Regions from separate parts of the Homo sapiens genome. Here regions 1 and 2 are each linked to region 3. Evidence: promoter capture Hi-C in human tissues and cell types (Jung and others, 2019). All regions are on one chromosome and are shown on one strand. Each heading gives the region's core, a stretch centred on a gene start or on the middle of the fragment in contact. The rest is flanking DNA. Distances are from core to core; before and after follow the strand shown. Region 1 holds the start of MUC17 (mucin 17, cell surface associated). Region 2 overlaps COL26A1 (collagen type XXVI alpha 1 chain). Region 3 holds the start of CLDN15 (claudin 15).

Region 1 (3,591 bases), core at 566-3,065, 220 kb after region 3:
GGACCAGGCTGAGGCCACTGCAGCTCTCTCTCTAGACCCACGCCCTGCCCTGGTATCCCCAGCCCCATGACTTCAGCAGGGGTGAGGCTCTGGGTCCCTGGAGAAGGGACATGGAAAGGGTCAGAGGCTGCCCAAAGCTGGCCAGGGTCCCAAAGGACAGCCAATGCCAGGCACAGAGACGGAGGAGCCACAGAATCCTGGAGAGTAGGAACAGGGTCTGAGAAGTCACATTCTACAAAGGCAGACTGAGGCTAGGGATGAAATCAATGATAACACGCAGAAAGTGGGGAGAGGCCAGGAAGGGGCCAAGGAGAGGTGGGGAGAAGAAGAAAGAGAAGAGAGGGGGAAGGAAGGGGCTAGAAGAACCCAGGAAGAGGGAAGGGAGGAGCAGAGAGAAAGAAAGGAGGGGGCCAGGAGCGGTGGCTCACCCCTGTAATCCCAGCACTTTGGGAGCCCAAGGTGGGAGGACTACCTGAGATCAGGAGTTTGAGACCAGCCCGGTTAACATGGTGAAACCCTGTCCTTACTAAAAATATACAAAATCTAGCTGGGCATGGTGGCATGTGGCTGTAATCCCAGCTACTCAAGAGCCTGAGGCGGGAGAATCGCTTGAACCCGGGAGGCAGAGGTTGCAGTGGGCTGACATCACGCTACAGAACTCCAGCCTGGGTGACAGAGCGAGGCTCCGTCTCAAAAAAAAAAAAAAAAAAAAAAGGAGGAGACAGAGGTGAGGGTTGGGGAGGAAAACAAAAGATCATGTCTAAGATGCTGTTATTAGAGATACATCACCAAGGGTCTGGAAGGCACAGAAAGTGCAAGGAAAGGAGTGTTTTCATTACAACGAATGGGCTGGCAGATCTGGGTGAGATTGCCACAGGGTGACATCTCGAGGGGCAGGGACCCTGAGGTCTATGGGTCCAGTTTCTGTCTTGGTTCCCCTGCGCCCTTCTCTGGGGGCAGGTGAGGGGCAGAGGGAGCTCCCAGAGAGTCCAGCTGGAACCCACTGTCATCCCTCCTGCTCTGAGCCCCCCGGGGTCCCTGTGGCCATGAAGCCCAAAGCGGCTGAGCTGGAATGATCCTCAGAGGTCCTAATGCCTTGTCTTTTGGGGAGACTGAGGCAGGAGATGAACTGAGCGGCCCCAGGGTGCACAGCTGGTTCATGGCAGGATTAGAATCTGGGGCTCCTGAAACGCCATTTTGTGCCCATGTGGCTATGTCCCGGAAACATTCCTGGGGCACACAGCAGGGTGTGCTGGTGTGGGAGGTGACAGGGACTTGGCGGGAACATTCACTGGGTAAGGATAGACTCTAATATGGGTTGAACACCAGTCTTGTGCCAGGGATCATGCCTCGGGGGGGGAGCTCTTTTCAATCCTAGCAGCTGCCCTGAAAAGCAGGTGTTATTATTCTTACTTTCCGGAGGGGAGACTGAGGCTCGGAAGGGGAAACTAAGGCTCAGAGACCTCAACTGGAAGAGGCTCCAATGCCCTGGCTCTTCCCCCAAAGCTCGCTGGGGAGAGAAGAGAAGTCCAGGGGGTAGGCACAGGGCTGAGCTCCAGGCAGAGGGCACACCCCTATTGGTGTCCTGGAGGCAGCTCTCCCTCGGGGATGGGCAGACAGAGCAGGCTGGCCCCTGGGATGGGGGCCTCTTGGGCAGCGGGGCGTGGGGGTCACTCACCCTGTTCTGCAGCAGCTTGTGGGGGCAAGAGCGAGAGGACCAAGGTCAGCAGACACAGCGCCATGGTCCCTGGCCTTGGCATCGGAGCTCTGAGCACGTCTCACTTGCCTGTCACCCCCAGAGGAGCTGGCGAAATGAGCCTCAGAGAAGGAAACTGATAAATAAATGGGTGCCAGAGACCTTTGGTCCCTGAGACACTGGGGATCAGGGGCCAGCCTGAGCCTGAGTCAGTCTGGAAGCTTCCCTCATGACTTGGGGCGCAGGGCCTGTTTCAGGCCAAAGGGCAGAGGGAGGGGGTGCCTCTCCCTGGCCCGGCAGCCCATAGGCATGAGGGTTATCAGCTTTATCACCCCAACAGAGGGGCAGCCCAGAGGGCCTGTAGGAGCCAGGGGGGAACTGATGAGATCCCCCGACCGAGGGTGGTGGGAGATGGGCAAGAGGGACTGGGCCTGAGCTGGGAAAGGAGGAGGGTACCACCTGCATTTGACCCTAACCCCTAGCAGGGACACCCCCTTTGTCTCTTTTCTAACCCTTCTTATTGGCCGGGTATGGTGGCTCACACCTGTAATCCCAGCACTTTGGGAGGCTGACGCGGGAAGATCACTTGAGATGAGGAGTTTGAGACCAACCTGGCCAACATGATGAAACACCATCTCTACTAAAAATACAAAAATCAGCCAGACTTGGTGGCGGGCGCCTGTAATCCCAGCTACTCAGGAGGCTGAGGCAGGAGAATCGCTTGAACCTGGGAGGCGGAGGTTGCAGAGAGCCAAGATCGTGCCTCCGTACTCCAGCCTGGGCAACAGAGCAAGACTCTGTCTCGGCAAAAATAAATAAATAAAATAACCCTTCTTATTGTCCTATGAGTATGCCCTGAAGACATGGCCATGCCTGGGCAGGGAGTTCTTGGGTTTGGTCTGTGGGTTCCGAGGTAAGCACAGCTCCCATGGCCATCTGGAGTGACCCTGCCTTGTGCAAGCTCAGCAGAGCCAAGTGCTCACTCCCTGGCCAACTGGGGTTGAATCTGAGGTCCTCTCCTGTCCCCAGAACCTGACATTAGGCTTTTCTGCCACAGGGACCTCAGCAGAGGCAGGCCTAGACCTGTCCTGACTGGAGCCGGGGAGGGGGCTCCCTGCAAAGACACAGGAAGGGGCCCAGAGCATTCGTTCCATGCCCCATTCAGCAGCCAGTCCTGGGAGAAATCCCATCCCAGGAGGGCTCTGACCCCTAACCTGACCCCAACTGCAGAAGGAGGAGAAGGAAACCTCTCACTTCTCATTCTGAGCTTTCAGATTTGCTTTTATTGGTAGGGAAATTCCAGAGTGGGGAGCCACCCAGGAGGAGACAGGGGTGCCGAGGCTTCTGGGAGTCTGGAAGCTCCCGGATGGAGAGGCTTACAGCCCCCAGCCTTCCCCAGCAGGAGCACAGGCAGGGGACTGGCCAAGTCTGTCAGCTCAGAGCAGGACCGGCTTCAGGGCCTGACTTCGGTCTCCTCTTGACCCGCCCCGGAGGCTTGTGGTGGGCTCTGTGTTTGCAGCTCTCCTGAACAGAGCTAGATGAGGGTGGGAGGCCCCCGTTGGCTCACACAGTGGATGCTACCATCTCCGGCCTCTGGATGTGGAGCTGGGGGACGGGAGAGAAGAGGTGAGGCCAAGGGGCAGACCCGGGAAAGGGGGAGCCCCAGGAGGAAGAGGGAGCCCTGGCGGGGAGGAGGGAACCCCAGGGGGAGGGAGGGAGTCCCAGGGGGAGGGAGGGAGTCCTAGGGAGAGGAGGGAGTGGCGGGGGAGGGGGGAGTCCCAGGGGAAGGGGTGGCCCCAGGGTGAGGAGGGAGTCCTGGGGGAGGAGGGAGTCCCAGGAGAAGGGAGGGAGTCCTAGGGGGAGAAGGGAGTCCCAGGGGTAGGGAGAGTGTCCCA
Region 2 (3,744 bases), core at 739-3,238, 130 kb before region 3:
GGGACTCCTGCTTTACATAGATCACTCTGGAGGTAGTTAGGGGTGGGGCAAACAAGGAGATGCAGGGGGCCAGAACGCACACCGCTCTCCTCCAGTATTTCAGAATTAACCTGGACTCAGTCCAGCTTGTTTCAGGGTAGTCTGTTACAGGACTCCGAAGAGAAGCTCTAGACCCTGGTTTCTGGGAGGCAGGTAGAGACAAGGCCAGGCTGGGAAGGCCAGGGACCCCTGACAACTCGGAGGGCAGAACAGCACGGCATGTGTATGTTTCCGTAGGATTGTCTGCAGAATTCCCGGAGCACTTTGTGCTAACATTCCCGAAAATCCTCTAACAGTTAGTTATTGTTGCTCTTTTCCCCTGCCCCAGGCTGAATTGGTCCGGGTCCAGCTCACACACTCTGGAAGTGGCAATGAAGTGTCACACGAGTTCGAGCCAAGAGAAGCCTGGAGGAGTGCTCTTATTGCCATAGGAATTGTTTCTCTGGGAATGGATTTTAAAATAACAGATGAGCTGGGGGAAGAGGGGAGTGAGATGAAGAGAGGGAAGATTCAGAAAATCCTGGAGCTTGAGGACAAGGTCTCACTGATATTAACATCAAAGCCATTCTGTGTGATTCTCAGGAAAAGTCTCCCTCCTCTATGTGCTCACACTTCAAAGGGAGAAGCGGGACCTCTAAAGCTGGAGTCTCCATGGTTCCCCTAAAAGCAGCTTCAGGAGCTGGCCTGTGCAGAGAAAGGGACCTCGCTCCAGGATCCCTCAGAACTGCAAACGTGCACTGAGGCAGAGGCACTGCCTCGGTGTCCCAAAGGAGAAAGGTCAAGGTATTTGTTCATTCATTCATGTGTTCATTCATTCACTCAACAAACTTTCCTTGAGCACCTGATCCGTGCAAGTCCAGGAGATGCTGAAATTTGGGGTTGAAAACTCCATGCAGGAAAAATAAAAGTATTTCACAAAAATGCAAGATGTTTGAACTCTGCTTTGCTGCCATTGCAAACCAAGAAAGTGCTGCAAAAAATTTGCAATGTTCTGAGAAGCAAAGCAGCAGGCTCCTTGGTGTCCCCCAGGCACTGGAGACAGCCAGGAGCTCAGGCCTGTAGCCTGTCTCTGCCTATCCGTGATCCACCAAGGGGCCAGGTCCTGCTAGCTCTGAGCACTCCCTTCTCCCCTGCTCCATCCATCAACTACCTCCTAACTGGCCTCCCTCCTTCCACTATCCTTCCTCTGCCAGCCTCTCCCCGACCAGCAAAGTTGGCACAAGCCTGACTGTGACAAAGCCCAGACTATGAAGGCAAGCTCCTCAAGGTGGCAGGAAGGAGACTTCACATCCAGACTCCAAAAGCTCAGTGCCTGTCCTCTGCCTGCCCAAGCCCATGGTCTGCTCTTGCTCTGTCACCCTGATTGGAGTGCAGTGGCACGATCATAGTTCACTGCGGCCTCAAACTCCTGGGCTCAAGCAATCCTCCCACCTCAGTCTCCTGAGTAGCTGAGACTACAGGTGTGTTCCACCACACCTGGCTAATTTTTTATTTTTGGTAGAGACGGGGTCTTGCTGTGTTGCCCAGGCTGGTCTTGAACTCCTGAGCTCAAGCAATCCTCCCACCTTGGCCTCCCAAAGTGCTGGGATTACAGGCATGAGCCACCACATCCCATTAGTCCAGCCACTCTGAACTCAGTCCCACTAACTATATGTCAGGCAATAGCTAATGACACTTCCAAGCCTTTACACAGTTGTCTGTCTGCCCAGAATGCCCCAGTCACTGCCTCAAGCTCTCCTGTTCATCCTACAAAACCCACCTCCTATGTTGACTCCTCTGAGAAGTCCTCAACATTTAGTCTCTATCCACTAGAACATTTCCCTAAGTATGTGGTCAGGAACACAATCCTAACAAAATGCTCCCCAGAAGGCCAGGTGCGGTGGCTCACACCTATAATCCCAGCACTTTGGGAGGCCAAGGCAGATGGATCACTTGACGTCAGGAGTTCAAGACCTGGCCAACGTGGAGAAACCCCAGCTCTACTAAAAATACAAAACTTAGCCTGGCATGTTGGTGGGCGCCTGTAATCCCAGCTACTTGGGAGGCTGGGGCAGGACAATCGCTTGAACCCTGGAGGCGGAGGTTGCAGTGAGCCAAGATCGCACCACTGCACTCCAGCCTGGGCAACACAGCCAGACTCCGTCTCAAAAAACAAAATGCTCCCCAGAAAAAGATTCCAAGGCTTCATATATTTGTGGAACTCCCCCGTCCTTGCAACCTTTGCAAGGCATATGAATGCAGTCCACGGTCACATTCATGAACAGAGGGTTTACTATCCTTTTTCCTAAGAACATTATTAATATTAACCCATGTAAGCCCCAGAACAACTTAATGAAGTACTGAAGTCATTCCCATTTTACAGATGAGAAAACTGAGGCACAAAGACTCCCAGGCTCCCACAAACCCTAACTCCCCTAGCTCACTTTGCACACATTTGTATCACACCAAATTCCACTCTTGCTCATGGATCTGTTTTCCCCAACCAGTCTCTGAGCTCATCAAGGACGGAGGCTGGGTCTGAAACATCTCACTGCCCCAGAGACAGGGTCTCACTCTGTCACCCAGGCTGGAGCGCAGTGGTGTAATCATAGCTCACTGCAGCTTCAACTTCCTGGGTTCAAGCGTTCTTCCCACCTTAGCCTCCCAAATACCTGGGACTACAAGTGTGCACCACCATGCCCAACTAATTTTTTAAAGTTTTTTTTTTGCAAAGACAGGGTCTGACTATATTTCCCGGGCTGGTCTCAAACTCCTGGGCTCAAGTGATCCTCCTACCTCAGCTTCCACCAGGACTACAAGTGTGCACCACCACACCCAGCTAATTTTTTAATTTTTTTTTTTTTTACAGAGACAGGGTCTGGCTATGTTGTCCCAGCTGGTCTCAAACTCCTGGGCTCAAGTGATCCTCCCACCTCGGTCTCCCAAAGTGCTGGGATTAAAGGCATGAGGCACCATAGCTAATCACAGTTGCCAATTCTTGAATGTAGGGAACCAGAGAGCAAAGGCAGGGGTCCAACACTGCAGAGGCATGCAATCCAGTCGGAGGGACAAGTCCCCATGGATGTGATCATCCACTTCCCCAGAGTCTGCTGAGCTCTTCCTCCATGCAGGCCACCAGGCACAGCCCCCTGCCTTCACGTTTGAGTCCCCAGCCTCTACCCTACCTACACGTGGGCTCAGTGAATGCAAGGTGATTAAATGCCTGACCTGGAGCGGCTCACATTTCCAAGAGGCAGTGGTGGGTGGTGGGCAGGGCTAAGCTCCAGCTCATGCACGCTTGCCCAAGGACGGCTGCTCAGAGCCACTCCTGTAGGGAGTAAATGAGGAAGGAGAAATGACTCCATCTGCAAGGAGGGAAACTGGGGAAGTGAGTTCTAGAACCAAAACCACAATCACAGATGCAGGGGCTACCCACAAATCACAGGTGCAGGGGCTACCCACAAATGAGATGAACAGAAAGCTGGGAGGTAAATCCAGAGAGACTTCCTGGAGGAAGGGTGCTTGTGGTTCTACCAAAAGAGGGGGGAGTCAAGGTAAGAGGGAGGCATTTTGAGTGAGGAGGGGACACACCAAGCACTTTGGCTTAGACGAAACCACAAGAAAGTGAATTCAGAGACAGAGAGAGTTTGAAGCAGCAGGTATAGATGAAGGAAAGGTGGGCAGGGTGCAGTGGCTCATGCCTGTAATCCCAGCACTTTGGGAGGA
Region 3 (3,669 bases), core at 133-2,632:
GGGAGCCCAGTAGGGGAAGGAATCCTGCATCTGGCATGGAGTAGGCGGGGGTCCCGGGAGAGGTCAGAGCCCAGGGAGCCCCAGCTCTCGCCTGTGGGCTGGAAGGTCAGGACTCAGCCCCACCTAGCCAGCTTCGCCCCCTCGTGCCAGGCTCGGCATGGGCCTGTTTTGCTTCACCGCATACCTCTCGTTCCACAGCCCAGGCCAGCACAGGAGTAGGGAGGAGACACCTGAGGGGAGGCCGGAGAAGCCCAGCAGGGCCGTGGGGCCAGGGAGGTGCGCAGCCAGCGCTGATGGCCCCCAGGGACAGAGCCCTAGGGAACCGGAGCAGGAGATGAGAGTGTCTGCTCTGGGACAGGTGCTCTGCACTGGCTCGGGATGGGGACCAGAGGCTGCTAATCCATCATCATTAACGAATAGAGTGGGTGACAGTCCCTGATAACTGGGAACAGGTTGCAGAGCTTAGCCACAGGATCACGCTCCAGGCTGTTGGCCAGCAGGACCAGGCTCGATGCTGAGTCAAAGATCAACTTAGGAGGAAATTTGAGTTTTGGGTGAGAGCGACTCCCTGGTGGCCTCAGCCCTGTGACACTCACATCCAGGACAGTTCCCGGTGCCAAGCGCTGGTTATGTGTGGGGGGCTTGACTCCCTGGTCCCAACGAGGTCTCAGTGTGTTGCCCAGGCTGGTCTTGAACTCCTGAGTTCAAGCAATCGTCTCAGCCCAGCCTCCCAAAGTGGTAGGATTACAGGCGAGAGCCACTGCGCCCGGCCCCTGGTCCCAGTTCTCACCACAGCCCCTGCAGTAAGCAGTCGGGTATGTCACTGACAGAGCAGAAGCTCAGGGGACTAAAACTCCCCGCCTGAGTTCCCTGGTGAATGGATGGTGGGGCCGAGTTCCATTCCAGGCTGGATGGAGCCCAGAGCTGTGGGTCTCCTACCCTCCCATCCCCTCATTCCAGCTTGATCTTCCTTAAGAGACTCATACGCCCCAACCCCTTGGTCTGAGTATCTTAGATTGTTCTCGTGGTTCCTCCGTCCTTCACCACTGAAGGCTGCTGTTCATTCTCTCTCCGTCTCTGTCCCTTATTGCTCTCACGTCTGTCTCTGTCATCTTTTCACTCCTTGTCCCTCTTACTCCGTTCTTTGGCCCCCAATGAAAGCTGAGTCAGAGACAGACGCTTCCCCTCAGTTCCCAGTGCCTCCCTTGGGGGCCCCTCCTTGGCTGTATCCGTCAGTGGCTCCAGGGTAAGTCTGCCCCCCCCACCCTCGTGGGGCGGGGAGCCCGGGGCAGCCCAGAGGCTGGGGGGAGGGGGTGGACTTTTGGCCCGTTTCGGTTATTCCCTCCATCTCGTCAACAGCTGCCGCGCGCAGGCTTAGCTCATTCCTCTGACCTGCCAGGAAGCAGAGAGACCCACAGAGCAGGAGGGAGGCAGAAAGTGGAGACGGACCTGAGCCCGAGGAAGAGGCAGGCAGAGGCTGAGGCTGATTCCACCCCAGCCTGCCTGGACAACCCTCCTTAGCCGCAGCCCCTTCCAGTTCCCTAGGGGTTCTGCCCCTCCCCCTCTCTGGGGCACCAGCCCCCCAGGGTCCTGCATCCCACCATGTCGATGGCTGTGGAAACCTTTGGCTTCTTCATGGCAACTGTGGGGCTGCTGATGCTGGGGGTGACTCTGCCAAACAGCTACTGGCGAGTGTCCACTGTGCACGGGAACGTCATCACCACCAACACCATCTTCGAGAACCTCTGGTTTAGCTGTGCCACCGACTCCCTGGGCGTCTACAACTGCTGGGAGTTCCCGTCCATGCTGGCCCTCTCTGGTATGGGGTGGGGAGCGCTCCAGGGAGAGAGGGCGGCGGGGAAGCTGCAGAGACCCCAGGGGAGGGCGGGTACTTCCGTGAGGATGCAGGGAGCCCTGAATTAAGCTCTGCGGGTCTGAGTTCCCGCAGCCAGGAGTGCTGGGGGCGGCCCATGCCTAGAACTGGAGTGAAGACCTTGCCACACGTGGCCCCCTGCGCTAGTGTGGCGCTTTTAGCTGTTACAGGTGCAGGCACCAGAATCAGACCCCCTTTCCCAGCCCTGTGCTGTGGGCAAATGATGAAACCAGCTTCATCTCCCACCTGTAGGGTTAGGGTGAGAGTCCCAGTTCACAGGTGACTGAGAAAGTGCAGAATGTTAGCGTGATGTTAACACACATAGGCACTCAGTACGGTTGAGCATGTTTTGGGGGTGGGATTGCTGGGGTGGGCAGGGGGAGGAGGCCCCATCTTGGATTCTTAGAGGTTGATCAACTTCCAGGCTCCACAGACTCCCCAGCCTCACTGTCGGGGGGCACTGGTCTCCTTGTCCGGCTGATGTCTATAAAGGGCCCCTGTGAAGGGAGGCGTCTTGCAAGTTGCAGGTTGAGCGTCCGCTGTAAGGAGGCGGTGTGTGTGCAGGTGTGTGGGGCTTCCAGGACAGTGTCTTTCTGGGGTCTTAGAGGGCTGGAGCCAACAGCTCTTTGGGCCCAGGGCAGTTCTTTCTGTGGCTGCGGCACCTTCCCGCTCCCTGCTCCCCGCTAAGATGAGGCCGCCCCATTGTTTCTCCGGGGCAGTCTCCCTTCCGTCTGCCCTATGCCAGAGACTGAGCGCTGGCGACCGTGAACTGTGTGTGGTGCCGCTGCACGCCCTCCTGGGTCCTTCAGGGCCAGTCCACTCACCAGGCACCGTGTGGCAGGGAAGGAGCCGAGGGCGACACTGGCTGTGAAGCGGGGCTTGAGAGCTCACCCCCGGGGATGTTGGAGCTGCTCTGAGCAGTTAGGGGGCCTGGGTGGGTCTCCTGTGCCCCCACTACTCCCAGCCCCTCCTGAGGCAGCGGCAGAGGCTTCCTGTTTTCATCCATCTCTCTAGGACTGACTGTATGCAGGGCCGGCGGGCCCCCCCCCCAAAAAAAACCCTATAAAAGCTGAGTACAACTTGGGCCAGAACCCCAGAGTTCTGAGTGTCCAGAAGGGACACTGGAGGCAGCCCCTACACCCACTTCCCAGACACATCATGCTGTGAGGAGGGGGCTCTGCTGTGAGCCTGCACACCTGAGAGGGGCACCCCTGGCAACTGCATGAAAGATGGTGCCAGAGTCCCCAGGGCACAGGGGTAGAGGGTGACCAGGTTCCGGGCCTTGGGCTAGGTGCTTCTGCCTACATTTTTCCACAGTGGGGAAGTAGGGGGAAACTTTTACAGAAGCAAGGTGCAGCACCCCACCCTGAATCACACAGGCAGGAGAGGGGAGCCGGCATTCAGACTCCACGGCTGGGGTGGTCCTGGGAGAGGGACCTGACTGCGTCTCCCAACCGTGCACCCCAGCCCCTGGCCACGCAGCCCATGTGCCCCTGGGCTCTTCCATAATCTCTCCATTGACTGCTAGAGCCACCTGGGGACTCAGACTCGTGTCAGCCCCAGAGGGAGTGGCTGGGAGGAAGAAAGTGCTCCCAGAGAACTTTGTCCCTCCTGCCTACCCCCCGACTCTGCACCCTGCATCTCCTGGCAGGGACCCAGCCTTTCCCCTTCAGCACCAACAGTTATGCCCCACCCGGGAAAGGGGTGCAAGGTCCTTGGAATGCTTGGCAACTATCAAAGACAGAGAAGGGAGGAGAAGGGGGAAGCAAGAGGGAGCCCGCAGCCTCCAGCTCTGA

The links. The method cuts DNA at HindIII sites, captures the fragments that hold promoters and counts their contacts. A contact is called where the count stands out against the background at its distance.
Region 1: the fragment with the promoter of MUC17 here is called in contact with the fragment with the promoter of CLDN15 in region 3 in 2 of the 25 tissues and cell types used here (adrenal gland and aorta).
Region 2: a contact is called between a fragment that was not itself captured here and the fragment with the promoter of CLDN15 in region 3, in 1 of the 25 tissues and cell types used here (H1 embryonic stem cells).

The regions. Positions count from the first base shown.
Region 1 is chr7:101,018,305-101,021,895 of GRCh38, reverse strand. It overlaps MUC17 (mucin 17, cell surface associated), which reads right to left and starts at 1,815. Exons shown (of 13, transcript NM_001040105.2): 1 at 1,679-1,815. The coding sequence starts at 1,760. It overlaps MUC12 (mucin 12, cell surface associated), which reads right to left. Exons shown (of 12, transcript NM_001164462.2): 12 at 2,960-3,301. The coding sequence ends at 3,260. RefSeq lists an enhancer at 2,915-3,064 and a silencer at 3,114-3,408. The HindIII fragment of the contact is 20,706 bases long and covers 1-3,591 here.
Region 2 is chr7:101,370,625-101,374,368 of GRCh38, reverse strand. The region is part of intron 1 of COL26A1 (collagen type XXVI alpha 1 chain); the gene reads right to left. Among named protein-coding and RNA genes, the nearest start is that of COL26A1, 9.6 kb to the right of the region's middle. RefSeq lists an enhancer at 1,212-1,750. The HindIII fragment of the contact is 5,075 bases long and covers 1-3,744 here.
Region 3 is chr7:101,235,515-101,239,183 of GRCh38, reverse strand. It overlaps CLDN15 (claudin 15), which reads left to right and starts at 1,382. Exons shown (of 5, transcript NM_014343.3): 1 at 1,382-1,819. The coding sequence starts at 1,603. The HindIII fragment of the contact is 32,734 bases long and covers 1-3,669 here.